Linked DNA regions of Homo sapiens: regions 2 and 3 are each linked to region 1. The links are contacts of gene promoters, found by promoter capture Hi-C in human tissues and cell types (Jung and others, 2019). All regions are on one chromosome and are shown on one strand. The core of a region is centred on a gene start or on the middle of the fragment in contact, and the rest is flanking DNA. Distances in the headings are between cores, read along the strand shown.

Region 1 (4,049 bases), core at 876-3,375:
TCTCAAACTCCCAGGCTTAATCCTCCTCCTTTGGCCTTCCAAAGTGCTAGGATTACAGGAATGAGCCACCATGTCCAGCCTAAATGCTCTTACTATCAGTTCCTTTATTTGACCTGAACCCTAAAATTCCTGGCTCTTTTTGTTATCTTCTACCTTAAAACTGTGTCTCCACTAATATTCTAGGCGTTTACTAATAATTACATTAAGGTAATAACACTCTGATCCAATTTTACAAGCAAACAGATAAAACGTCTATCTTTAACGTTATTCCACCAAGAGGTAATGTTTTCTCATAAATAATTTTACTCAAAAGTAGTAAAACTGTCTTTAATTAAGAAGAGATTCCCCCCAATTCTTTAACACTACTCACAACTCAGTGACATCTTCCAGTACCATATCTGAAATTTGGTGTTAAGAAAATAAATACAGAATTTACTCTAGCTTCTGCCTTTGTTCAGCTTTTGTTTTTTGTTTTTGTTTTTGTTTTGAGACAAAGTCTCGCTCTGTCATCCAGGCTTAAGTGCAGTGGTACAATCACACCTCACTGCAGCCTCCACCTTTTAGGCTTAAAGGATCCTCCTGCCTTAGCCCCGGAGATTAGCTGGACCCACAGGTGTACATCACCATGCCCAGCTAATTTTTGTAATTTTTGTGGAGACAGGGTTTCATCATCTTGCCCAGGCTGGTCTCAAACTCCTGGGCTCAAGCGATCCACCCACCTCGCCCTCCCAAAGCGCTGGGATTATAGGCGTGAGCCACTGGGCTCGCCTGTTCAGTTTTAATTACAATGTTTAATACAATGGCTCAAATTCAAAATGCTTGTTGTTGATAGGAACTTTACCGTCTTTCAATACATACCTCTTAAAACATTATCATAAGTTCCCTGAGAATGAACTGATTTTTATTATAATAATCACAAATATACTGATTGTCTATAGTTCTTATGTTATTACTTAAGAAAAACCTATACCACCACCACCTTTTAAAAGGATACTGACAAAGTCATCAAATCCTAGAAGAGTACCAACAATTTCCTTATCACTCTTCATCACGATGTGAATTCTTGATCCTATACATTTGTCCACAAGCTCTGAGGAGGGAAAAAATATTATTTTACCATTCATTATTTCAACAAATATTTGAGTGCCTACTGGCACTCTTACTTGCATATAGTGAAAGAAAAACCAGGAAAAACATTCATTCAATAACTTTAGGTCTTATAATACAAATCTCAGTTCAAGCACAGCATCTGGCACATAATGAGCCTTCCAAAAGAGTCTGTGGCATGAAGGAATGAAAACTTTTCAATCACGGCCACGACCACTAGTTCAATCACTCTTCACCAACTACAAAAATATAAGAGGAGATAGGTATAATTATATTCACCGGAAACTCTCCGGTCACTGCTTCCCTTTCCCAACTCTGTCTATCCTCTGTGCTCTGACGGTAGCTTGAACATCTCTTTAGCTAGCCTAGCATTATGTGGCATGATGTCTACTTGTCCAGTGTTCTCTCCTCCACTGGCTTGTGTGCTATTTGAAGGCAATGGCTATGGTTTATCATTGAAAAATGCCCAGGCACGGTATCTAGTGTATAGATACTCAGTTACTACTTATTGAATGAATAAATAACAAACAGAGCTGGTTTCCAGATTCCTCATTTAAGGCTCATTCCGGACCAGGGTGTTAGTGTCACTAACCAACCACATACATAACATGGTCTATCTAATCTGGGGATCGTAAACGCCAGGCTGAGAAGTAGGCCTACTACCTATAACACTGCAGAGGCGGGCTCACAACAAAGTAGGCCGACGACGCGTTCACTAAATGTGGACCTTTTCCAGTGAAGGTCTGGTTTGAGAAGTCAAAGTCCTTGCCTGGAGGAGCCCGACCACGTTAAAGAGCAGGTGCGGCCTGCTGTCGCGAAGACTTGGAGCTCAGAGTCGAACCGCATTTGGTCTTATACATTTCCCCACACTCGGCCAGGGCCTGCCTCGGAACAGCCCCTCGGCCCCCAATCCTGAATGTCAGCTCCCTGTTCCTGCTCCCCAAAGGACGGCGATTACCTAAGGGCAGCAGCTGCGACGGGTTGGTAGTAGCGTTAGCCGCCATGGCTACGCCGGAAGTGGCCTGCCTTCATTGATGGTGGGACGACTTTGAAAAGCGCGCTTCCGCTTTTTCCGCAGCCCAAACAGGCTCGACCAATCTGAGGCCGAGCGCACGATCTAGTCAGCTGCGTGGGTCGCGTTCACTGGCTTTTTTCCCCGGCAAGTGAGATCCGGTGAAATATTTCCTGCCCACTGGACATTTTACCATCTCGGCAGATACCCATAATGCCCTTGAAGTTTTGGAGAGACGTTGAAGATATTTTGCCTTGTGAATAAATTGTTCCTGTAACGTTTGAGTCTTCTTCCCCCGTAAAGTTGCATTTCCTCTCAAGCCAGAATCTTCAAACCAGTATAAATCAATTCGTATTTCCTGCCATCAATTAACTGTTACAATTTTCGTTACAACTACTCATTAAGGAATCTATTGTTTCTTTTTAAAGTCCAGTGGATTGAAAATCTGCAACTAGCATTTTTTAAAATTTTTCTTTAGTGAGGATTTAAGATATGTTTTTTAAACTTTTTACTACTTTAATTCATCGTTCTTATCTTTTTATGTCTGGTAGTCTTATTTATTATAGGCTTTTAAATTCAGTTTCTTCAACAATTCTTGTCTCACAGGCAACCACCAGATGTCACTCTAAATTATTCCAGAAGTGTAAAATCATGCTTTCCACTTCTGTGTTGAAAACAGCAAAGTATCGGCCCTAGTCTGTTTTATATTTGTATCCTAGGAACTTAAACCTGAACAGTCTAGGTCAGGCGCAGTGGTAACGACTGTAATCCCAGCACTTTGGAAGGCCGAGGCGGGCGGATCACCTGAGGTCAGGAGTTCGAGACCAGCCTGGCCAACATGGGTGAAACCCCGTCTCTACTAAAAATACAAAAATTAGCTGGGCGTGGTGGCGTGCGCCTGTAGTCCCAGCTACTCGGGAGGCAGAGGCAGGAGAACTGCTTGAACCCGAGAGGCAGCGGTTGCAGTGAGCCTAGATCATGCAACTGCACTCCAGCCTGAACAACAAGAGCGAAACTCCATCTCAAAAAAAAAAAAAAAAAAAGCTAAACAATAAACATGAGCGGCCACAAAGAACGTCATTCATTCATACAACAAATGGTCATTAAGCACCCATCATTCCTTCATAGACTGAGTTCCTCAAGGCTGAGAATTATGGGAAGCAGTAGTTTACGTGATTAAATTTCTTCATTTTGAATTAAATGACTTTGGTTCAAATTCCATGGTCAGTTATTTGACAATGGGCAAGTTATTTTAACTTTTTAAGTCTCAATATACCCATTGGAAAAAATGGGGACAACAGTATCTACTCATAAGATTAATGTGAAGATTAATTGAGATAATCTATGAAAAGTGGTCAGCATAGGACCTGGCACATAGCCCTTTTAAACATGAGCTGTTATTACTTATCCTTGTTTTCTAATACATGATGTCTGGCTCAGAGTGAAGCTACATAAAGCTAGCATTGCTAGCTGGTTTTGCATTCATCTTATTTTTATAACCAGACATAAGCCACTTTAAGGAAGCAATTTCTTATTTTATACACTGTGCACACTACATTTTCAGGCACACTGTAGGGCGCCTAATGAATATTCTTTAAATTGATTCTCACTATTTCATTCACACCCATCAACATTCTCCTTACTCTTCATAAGATTTTAAATACGAAGTAATGCCAGATTTGTTTGTGACGCTTCTTTCTTTCTCTTTCTCTTTTTTTCTTTTTGTCCAATCCTCATTTGGTTGAAAACCACCTCTTTTCCTGGTTTTCCTTTTCTATTCCTATTTTATTTTCCCCATACCATACTGACAGTATGGGAGAATTCAAAACATTGTTGTTATTTGATAGAGTTTTTAAAAATTAGAAAAATAGGCTGGGCACAGTGGCTCACGCCTATAATCCCAACACTTTGGGGGCCGAGGTGGGCGGAT
Region 2 (4,049 bases), core at 1,013-3,512, 460 kb after region 1:
TGAGCCAAGATTGCGTCATTGCACTCCAGCCTGAGCAACAAGAGTGAAACTCCATCTAAAAAACAAAAGAAAGAAAGAAAAAAAAGGCAATAACTACAGTTACAAACCATTGTTACAATACTAGGTTTTATAATTACCCGACTATTTATCTTTATTGAGATCCTTATTTCTTCATATAGCTTCTGCTTACTGTCTAGTGTTCTTTTATTTCTTCTTTTTTTAAATTTATTTTTGTCTCATTTTTCCAAGAAAATCTCACTCTGTCACCCAGGTTGGAATGCAGTGGCTCAATCTTGGCTCACTGCAACCTCCGCCCCCAGGGTTCAAGCGATTCTTGTGCCTCAGCCTCCCAAATAGCTGGAATTACAGGCATATGCCACCACGCCCAGCTAATTTTTGTGTTTTTAGTAGAGACGGGGTTTCACCATGTTGGCCAGGCTGTTCTCAAACTCCTGACCTCAAGTGATCCACCTGCCTCGGCCTTCCAAAGTGCTGGGAATACAAGCATGAGCCACGGTGCCTAGCCTAGTGTTCTTTTATTTCAGCCTGTGGAACTCCCTTGAACATTTCTTTCAGGGCTTGTCTAATGGTAATAAACTTCTTTGGCTTTTGTTTATCTTGAAATGTCTCAATTTGTCCCTAATTTTTGAAGGACAGTCTTGCTCGATATAGGACATATGATTGATGGTTTTTCCTTTTAGCAATTTGAATATATTAGCCATGTGCCTTCTGGCCTCTAAAGTCTCTGATGAGAAATCTGCACATAATCTAATTATGGATCCCTTGTCAGATGAGTTGCTTCTCTTGCTGCTTTAAAGATACTCTCTTTGTCTTTGTCTTTCAAAAGTTTGACTATAATGTGTCTTGTTGTGAATCTCTTTGAGTTCATCTTAATTGGAATTTGTTGAACTTCTTGGATTTTTATATTCACGGATTTCATCAAATTTGAGAAGTTTTGGCCATTATTTATTTAAATAGTCTCTGTGCCCCTTTCTATTTCTTTCCTGTTTCCTGGACTCCCACAATGCATAAATTGGTTCACTTGATAATGTCCCATTGGTCCCTTAAGCTCTGTTCACTTTTCCTTCCCTTTTAACTTAATTTTTGTTGTTGTTGTTGTTGTTAGAAATGAAGTCTCACTATGTTGCCCAGGCCGATCCTCAGCAATCCTCCTGCCTCCTGAGTAACTGGAATTACAGTGTATTACAGGGATAGATCATGGCCAATTGCATGGAGATTGTCCATAAGAGCTGGCCAATTTTATGATTATTGGAAGACTTGCATCAGGATAAATAGCTGCTTTTTTTCCCTTTTAGAACATGATTCTTCTTGGATAATACGTTCACATTAATTTTCTATGAAGTGCCACTCTTTCTGAAATTCTTTTGTGATTCTATATACACCAACAGCATTCTCTGTTTTCGCATCTTCTGTGCCATGTTTCTATGTTGTTTGAGGTATACAGAAATCCGTTCCACATGCACTCATATACAGACCACAAATTTAGTGGAGACAGTATCACTGAACAGCAACACCATTGCATAAGTGTCTTCGTTGTTGTTGTTGTAGACAGGGGATCTCACTATGTTGCCCAGACTGGTCTCAAACTCTTGACCTCAGGTGATCCTCCTACCTTGGTCTCCCAAAGCAATGGAATTACATGAGCCACCATGCCTGGTCACATAAGTGTCTTTTTATCCTTCCATACACATAATTATTTTTGAACCAGTGAGAAACTTATCTGGCTTCTTCAGGCAAATGAAGCTTTAATTAAGAAAAAAAAAAAAAACAACTCCTGGAATGTCATCAGCCAGAAGGAATACCAATGCAGGAAAATGATGTGGTTTTGTTGTTGTTGTTTGGTTTTTTGTTGTTATTGTTTGTTTTTTTCTTGAGATGGAGTCTCACTCTGTTGCCCAGGCTGGAGTGCAGTGACATGATCTTGACTCACTGCAATCTCCGCCTCCCAGTTTCAAGCGATTCTCCTGCCTCAGCTGGGATTATAGACATGTACCACCACAACTGGCTAATTTTTGTGTTTTTAGTAGAGACAGGGTTTCACCATGTTGACCAGGCTGATCTTGAACTCCTGATGTCAGGTTATCTGCCCACCTCGGCCTCCCACAGTGCTGGCATCACAGATGTAAGCCACCATGCCTGGCCTTTTTTTTTTTTTTTTTTTTTGAGACAGAGTCTCACTCTGTTGCCCAGGTTGGAGTGCAGTAGCACAATCTCAGCTCACTGCAACCTCTGCCTCCTGGCTTCAAGTGATTCTCATGCCTCAGCCTCCTGAGTAGCTGGTACTACAGGCACACACCACCACTCCTGGCTAATTTTTGTATTTTTAATAGAGATGAGGTTTTGCCATGTTGGCTAGGCTGGTCTCCAACTCCTGACCTCAATTGATCTGCCTACCTCGGCCTCCCAAAGTGCTGGGATTACAGGTGTGAGCCACAGCACCTGGCCCTCTTTTTATATTTTTATATTTTCTATATTTTTTATATTTTTATATTTCTTAAAAAGGTGTTCAGTTAGACAATAATTTTAGCTATGCCAAGGCTGGAGTGCAGAGGCACGATCACAGCTCGTTCCAGCTTTGAATTCCTGGGCTCAAGCAATCCTCCTGCCTCAGCCACCCCAAGTGCTGGGATTATAAGCATGAACCCTTTTATTTAATTCCTTTAGGGTAAAAGAAAAGAAAGAAATTGTCCAGCCATAATCAGTGACCTTAGAGTCAGCAAGCAAGTAGTCTAAAAATGTTAAGATATAATTTTGTGCTGAAACCAATTGAGTCAGGTTTCTCTCACTTGCAATTGAAAGAGTTTTGACTGATTCAAATATTTGCCTTGTTAGATATACAACAACAGTGATTTATTTTCTCACCAAGAAGACCCAGGGATCAATATTTCCACTTAAGCAACTATGCATCAAGGCTCTTTTGAAAATAGCAATGGACCAAAATCCAAATCACGCTGTTTTAAGGAAAAAAAAAAGGAATTTATTGGCTCACATATGTGAAATGTCCACGGGTGAAGCTTCAGGAATGACTGTATCTAGGTGCTGAAATTATACAGTCAGCACTTTCTCCCTCTCTCAGCCTCACCTTCCTTTGTATTGATTTATTCTCATGTAGGTTCTCTCATTGTGGTGGCAAAGATGGACACTAGAAGGCATAGATGGCCACCAATTTAGCAGCCTCCACTGAAAGAAATCTTATTTCCAAAAAACTTAAACTATGCTCATTGACTCAGCAAACATCACGTAGCTCTGAAGGAAAAAAATCACTGTGGTCAGAGAGATGCGGTGCTCTTCATAGCAGCAGTAGGCAGACAAATGCCTAGGCAGATAGGGGCAGGTCCCTGGAGAAACCCCACCTACAAGCTGAAGACAGTGTAAAACCTGAAAGCCAAGCTATAAGTCAAATCTACGGATGAGATTGAGAATCTGTCTTCCCATTTGACATGCTTTCCTCTGATTGATTCTCCACCCTTCACCTATTTTACATATACCTACCCTTTCCTAATTGGTTTTCTACACTGCCATACCCACCTTTGAGGGGTGCTTTTGCTTTAGCCTTTCTTTGCGTACTCACAAACCAATCAGCATGCACTTCCCTATTCTGAGCTCATAAAAGCCCCAGACTCAGCCACACTGAGAGAGAAACCAACCGACGGGGGAGGGGGGTGAGCAGGAGGCCACCTCTGCATCCCCTCTCCGCTGAGAGCTATTCCATTGCTCAATAAAGTTCTTCTCCACCCTCCTCACCCTTCAATTGTCAGTGTATCCTTATTCTTCTTGGACATGGGACAGGAACTTAGGAACCACTGAATGTGTGTACATGCTGTAACACAGGAGAGCTGAGGCACACCTGGCCCAGCCACGGACTGAGCCAATGCACAAGCCAGACTTGGCTCAGGCAGACTGAGTAGGCAGGGCACCTCCTGCAGCAGGTAGCATGCCTGAGCAAGGCCCAGGTGGCAGTGGTACCAGCTGGAGGTCCCTAGCTGGCAAAATGACTGAGAAAAATCCTGCGTCACTCTGGCCAAGCC
Region 3 (4,049 bases), core at 1,035-3,534, 400 kb after region 1:
GCCTGAAAGCAGCCAAAGACAATATGGAAACAAATGTTATTTCAATAAAACTTTGTTTACAAGAACAGGTTACAGGCCACATTTACCAAACGCTGCTTTATTTTTAAAAATTTATATTTCTTTTATATATATATGTGTGTATGTGTGTGTATATATATATATACACATATATGTGTATATATATATATATACACACACATACACACACACAAATTTTAATTTTTTTTTTTAAGAGACAGGATTGTACTATGTTGCCCAGGCTGGTCTTGAACTCCTACGTTCAAGCGATCCACTTGCCTTGGCCTCCCAGAGTACTGGGATTACAGGTGTGAACCGCCGCACCTGGCCTTACACTGCTTCTTGATGAAATATTTAGTCAGTGACTAAAATACGTACCTCAAGTTGTTTCTGCAAGAATAATGTTTCTCTTCAGATCACAAAACAAGGAAAAGCACAAACTTTAAATTCCTGAACGCGGAATTAAATATAATTCTTAATCTAATTTATATATATTCCACTTTTCTTCTCAACCAAAATATTCTAACATCTTTTACCTAGTCACACAACTGCTTTCCCCAATTCCTGCTAGTTCCGTGGACTTCCGAAACATGTTCTTATCTAGTGTGAGTACCTTTAATTAAGGTTAAAAAAAAAAAAAAAGACATCTCTCCCCAAGATAACCTGCCAAAAAAAAAATCCATACTGAGAAAAAGCTATTCAAAAACACTTAAATTACTTTGGGAAATCCCTGTTATAAGCCACAATTCCTGGTATCAGGTGCTTCCAGATTAGTAAGAAAGTCCTATATTCTAACACTGATCATTAGAATATATTCCATAGTAAAAAATGCTAACCAGCATAAGAATTAAATTGGAGTCATGCAAACACAATATAATGAAATTCACAATCTTAATAAAGTGCAATGTACTTTGACATAAAAAGTGTACATATTCTTACTCCTTCTTTTAAGTCCTGCGCTCAATTCAGTGTTTTTGACTGATTTGCTTGATCGCAGAGAATGGCAAAGATAAGGTTAAAATGTTATACACAGGATGAAATCCTCTCCTCCACTGTCTACACACTTTTTTTTTTTTTTTTAAAGACAGAGTCTCGCTCTGTCGCCCAGGCTGGAGTGCAATGGTGTGATCTAGGCTCACTGCCACCTCCACCACCCGGGTTCAAGCAATTCTCCTGCCTCAGCCTCCTAAATAGCTGGGATTACAGGCACGCACCACCATGTCCGGCTAATTTTTCACATTTTTAGTAGAGATGGGGTTTCACCACGTTGGCCAAGTTGGTCTCAAACTCTTGACCTCAGGTGATCTGCCTGCCTCGGCCTCCCAAAGTGCTAGGATTACAGGCATGAGCCACCACGTCCGGCCTCTACCCACTGACTTTCTACGAATTATTACAGGACAAAGTCCTATTTATTTTTAAATCCGAAGACTACCTACAGAAGTCAAAAATTTATAAACTGATTGAAAACAAATGCTTCTAATACATTTTCTCTAGGATGCCCAAGTCTCCGAGGTTCTGAGTGAATTCCAACACATAAAAGTTTTGAAACATTGTTACTAAATGATTGTCAGGATTAAATCAGTTAGCAATCGACAGTAACATATACAATTCTACTTAAAAATCTGAAACTCTTCCCACAAAATATTATTTCTAGAGATGACTTAAAGTATTGGGAGGATATGCACAGGTTATCGAAAATACTACGGCATTTTATCAGAGACCTGAGTGTCCTTGGATTTTCATATCCCAAGGGGACCTAGGAACTAATCTCCCACTGAAACCAAGAGACAACTGTGTTTCTATGCAACAAATTTAAGTTGGTTGTCTGAATTCCTCACTTAACTTTCCTATAAAATAACAGTATTAAAAAGGTGTTTAACTTCTCACTATAAGCAGCAAAACATGCCTGAAAGTCTATCAGCAAAGAAAATTTACAAAGTAAATACTACTTTAATACTCATAAAGAGATAAGTGACCATGAAATTGTTTTACAGATTCTGATTATTAACATTAAAGGATAAGGAACCAAGATTAAAAGTATGAAATGTTGAAATTTTTAAAAAATCCCAAATACTTTTAAAGATGTCAGAGGTTGATGGCAGTGTTTTGGCTTTTTGGGGGGAGGCAATGAGGGGGGATAGATGTCTAATTTCACTTTGAAATCAAGTTTTCATTCCTAGAGGTGTGTACTTTGTAGCATCCTCCCACTGAGTAGCCTGGAAACACAAATAGAAGCAAAGCAAGCTTTTCCAATGTTAACCAGGCAGAATATAGAGACTGAGGAACGAATAAAGGATTAAAGAACTATTGAATGTGATAAAGAAACCAATCAGCAATTAACTGAGCTGTGGATGAAAAAGGAAGAAAGGATAAAAAGATGGGAAGGAGGCTGCTAGCAAGGCCTGCTACAATAAGCACAGTAGTAGGTACAAAGTTTCCATTGGACAGGAGGAATAAGTGTTACTGATCTGTTACACAGCATGTTGATGATCGCAGTTAACAATAATATACTGTGTATTTCAAAACTGCTAAAGATTCTAAATGTTCTCACCACAAAAAAAATAAGTACATGAGGTGACAGATGTAAATAGCCTGATTTAATCATTCCTCAATGTGTACATAGATTGAAACATCACATTGTAGCCCACAAATACATACAATTATTTGCCAACTAAAAATAAAATAAATTATATAGTAGGAATGAAGGAATGATAGGTCTCCCTCCAGGAGGGGCAGTGCGGCTATAAATCATTCACCTGTAGGAAGCACATTCAAATTGTACATTACTAACTTAGGGAGTGCTGCATCTCCCAATGCTACAAATGTCAATAGAGAAGATTAAAAATTTTTGTTGGAAAAGATCCAAGGCGTTCTCCATGGAGGTCAACCGTTGAAAAATAATTGAGTACAAACCCAAACTACTTGGGTTAAAGCCCCAGTTCTGCAACTTAATAGCTGTGTGGCCCTTTTTAAGTTATTTATTCTCTATGCCTCAGTTTGCTCATCTATAAAATGTAGTTAAAAGTACAACTCTCTTCTCAATGAATTGTTCTAGGATTACATTTCATACTTGGTTCAGTACCTGACACACAGCACTACACAGATATTCGAAATTATTTTTATTAACCCACCCACTGGTGAAGCTTTTGCAGCACTTTCCCAACTCCTGGATTCCACACCTTCACCAGGTCCGAAGATTCCAATTTCAAGGTCTCAGCACTCCAAATACAGTTCTCTTTTTTCATTCTGTCTAAATGGTATTTTACATAAGAGAAATCCAATGTTTTCAGAGAATATTGGGACTTTTTTGCAAACATTTGACACTTGAAATCTGAATTCAGTGTTCTAAAATATTAAGATAATTTTTCCTTTTTTTTTCCTTTTCTCACATATTTTGATGGTACAAATAATGAAACAAACTAGTGCTTAAAAGACGACCAATCTTGAGGAGGCTGATGTCAGTGTAAAAAACTAAATGAGAGTCCAGAAAGGCACCAGTCATAAAACAAGCCTTTCTTTATTTCAATGAGATAGTTTTCTCCTTAGGAAGGACAAGAGATGGGTGCTAGAAACAGTTTGCTTTCAAGTTATCAAAACAACCACGACAGTTGAGAATGTCTGGAAAAGACCATTTGTTTTTTAGATTGTCAACTGCTACACAAACAGAATTTTCTGGAGTTGTGACAGGCATCAATTAAAAAACAAACCAAAAAAAAACAAAAAAACCAAAAAAACAAACACCTGGCCTTTTGAAGAATCTATCAAGTTTTAAAAATTTCAGCATACTTGCAGTGAGCCGAGATCGCATCACTGCACTCCAGCCTGGGCGACACAGCGAGACTCCGTCCCAAAAAAAAAAAAAAAAAAATTTCAGCATAGCTTCCTCTGCTCTAGTCACATTCAGAGCTTAGGTCTGTTCTCTCTTTCCAACCATACTGATAGATGACATGGCTCCATCAGGTTAATTACGCTCAGCACCCTAAGTAAATTCAGGTCACAAGTACAAGCTGTACTATATTATGATTAACAAG

Evidence for each region. The method cuts DNA at HindIII sites, captures the fragments that hold promoters and counts their contacts. A contact is called where the count stands out against the background at its distance.
Region 2: a fragment that was not itself captured here is called in contact with the fragment with the promoter of LSM5 in region 1 in 1 of the 25 tissues and cell types used here (lymphoblastoid cells).
Region 3: a contact is called between a fragment that was not itself captured here and the fragment with the promoter of LSM5 in region 1, in 1 of the 25 tissues and cell types used here (hippocampus).

What each region holds. Positions count from the first base shown.
Region 1 is chr7:32,488,255-32,492,303 of GRCh38, forward strand. LSM5 (LSM5 homolog, U6 small nuclear RNA and mRNA degradation associated) reads right to left here and starts at 2,126. Exons shown (of 5, transcript NM_012322.3): 1 at 2,066-2,126; 2 at 995-1,090; 3 at 371-398. The coding sequence starts at 2,111. RefSeq lists an enhancer at 2,029-2,078. The HindIII fragment of the contact is 28,883 bases long and covers 1-4,049 here.
Region 2 is chr7:32,944,722-32,948,770 of GRCh38, forward strand. No RefSeq gene overlaps it. Among named protein-coding and RNA genes, the nearest start is that of FKBP9, 11 kb to the right of the region's middle. The HindIII fragment of the contact is 4,202 bases long and covers 162-4,049 here.
Region 3 is chr7:32,884,828-32,888,876 of GRCh38, forward strand. All of the region lies in intron 1 of KBTBD2 (kelch repeat and BTB domain containing 2), which reads right to left. Among named protein-coding and RNA genes, the nearest start is that of KBTBD2, 4.9 kb to the right of the region's middle. RefSeq lists an enhancer at 3,933-4,049. The HindIII fragment of the contact is 4,049 bases long and covers 261-4,049 here.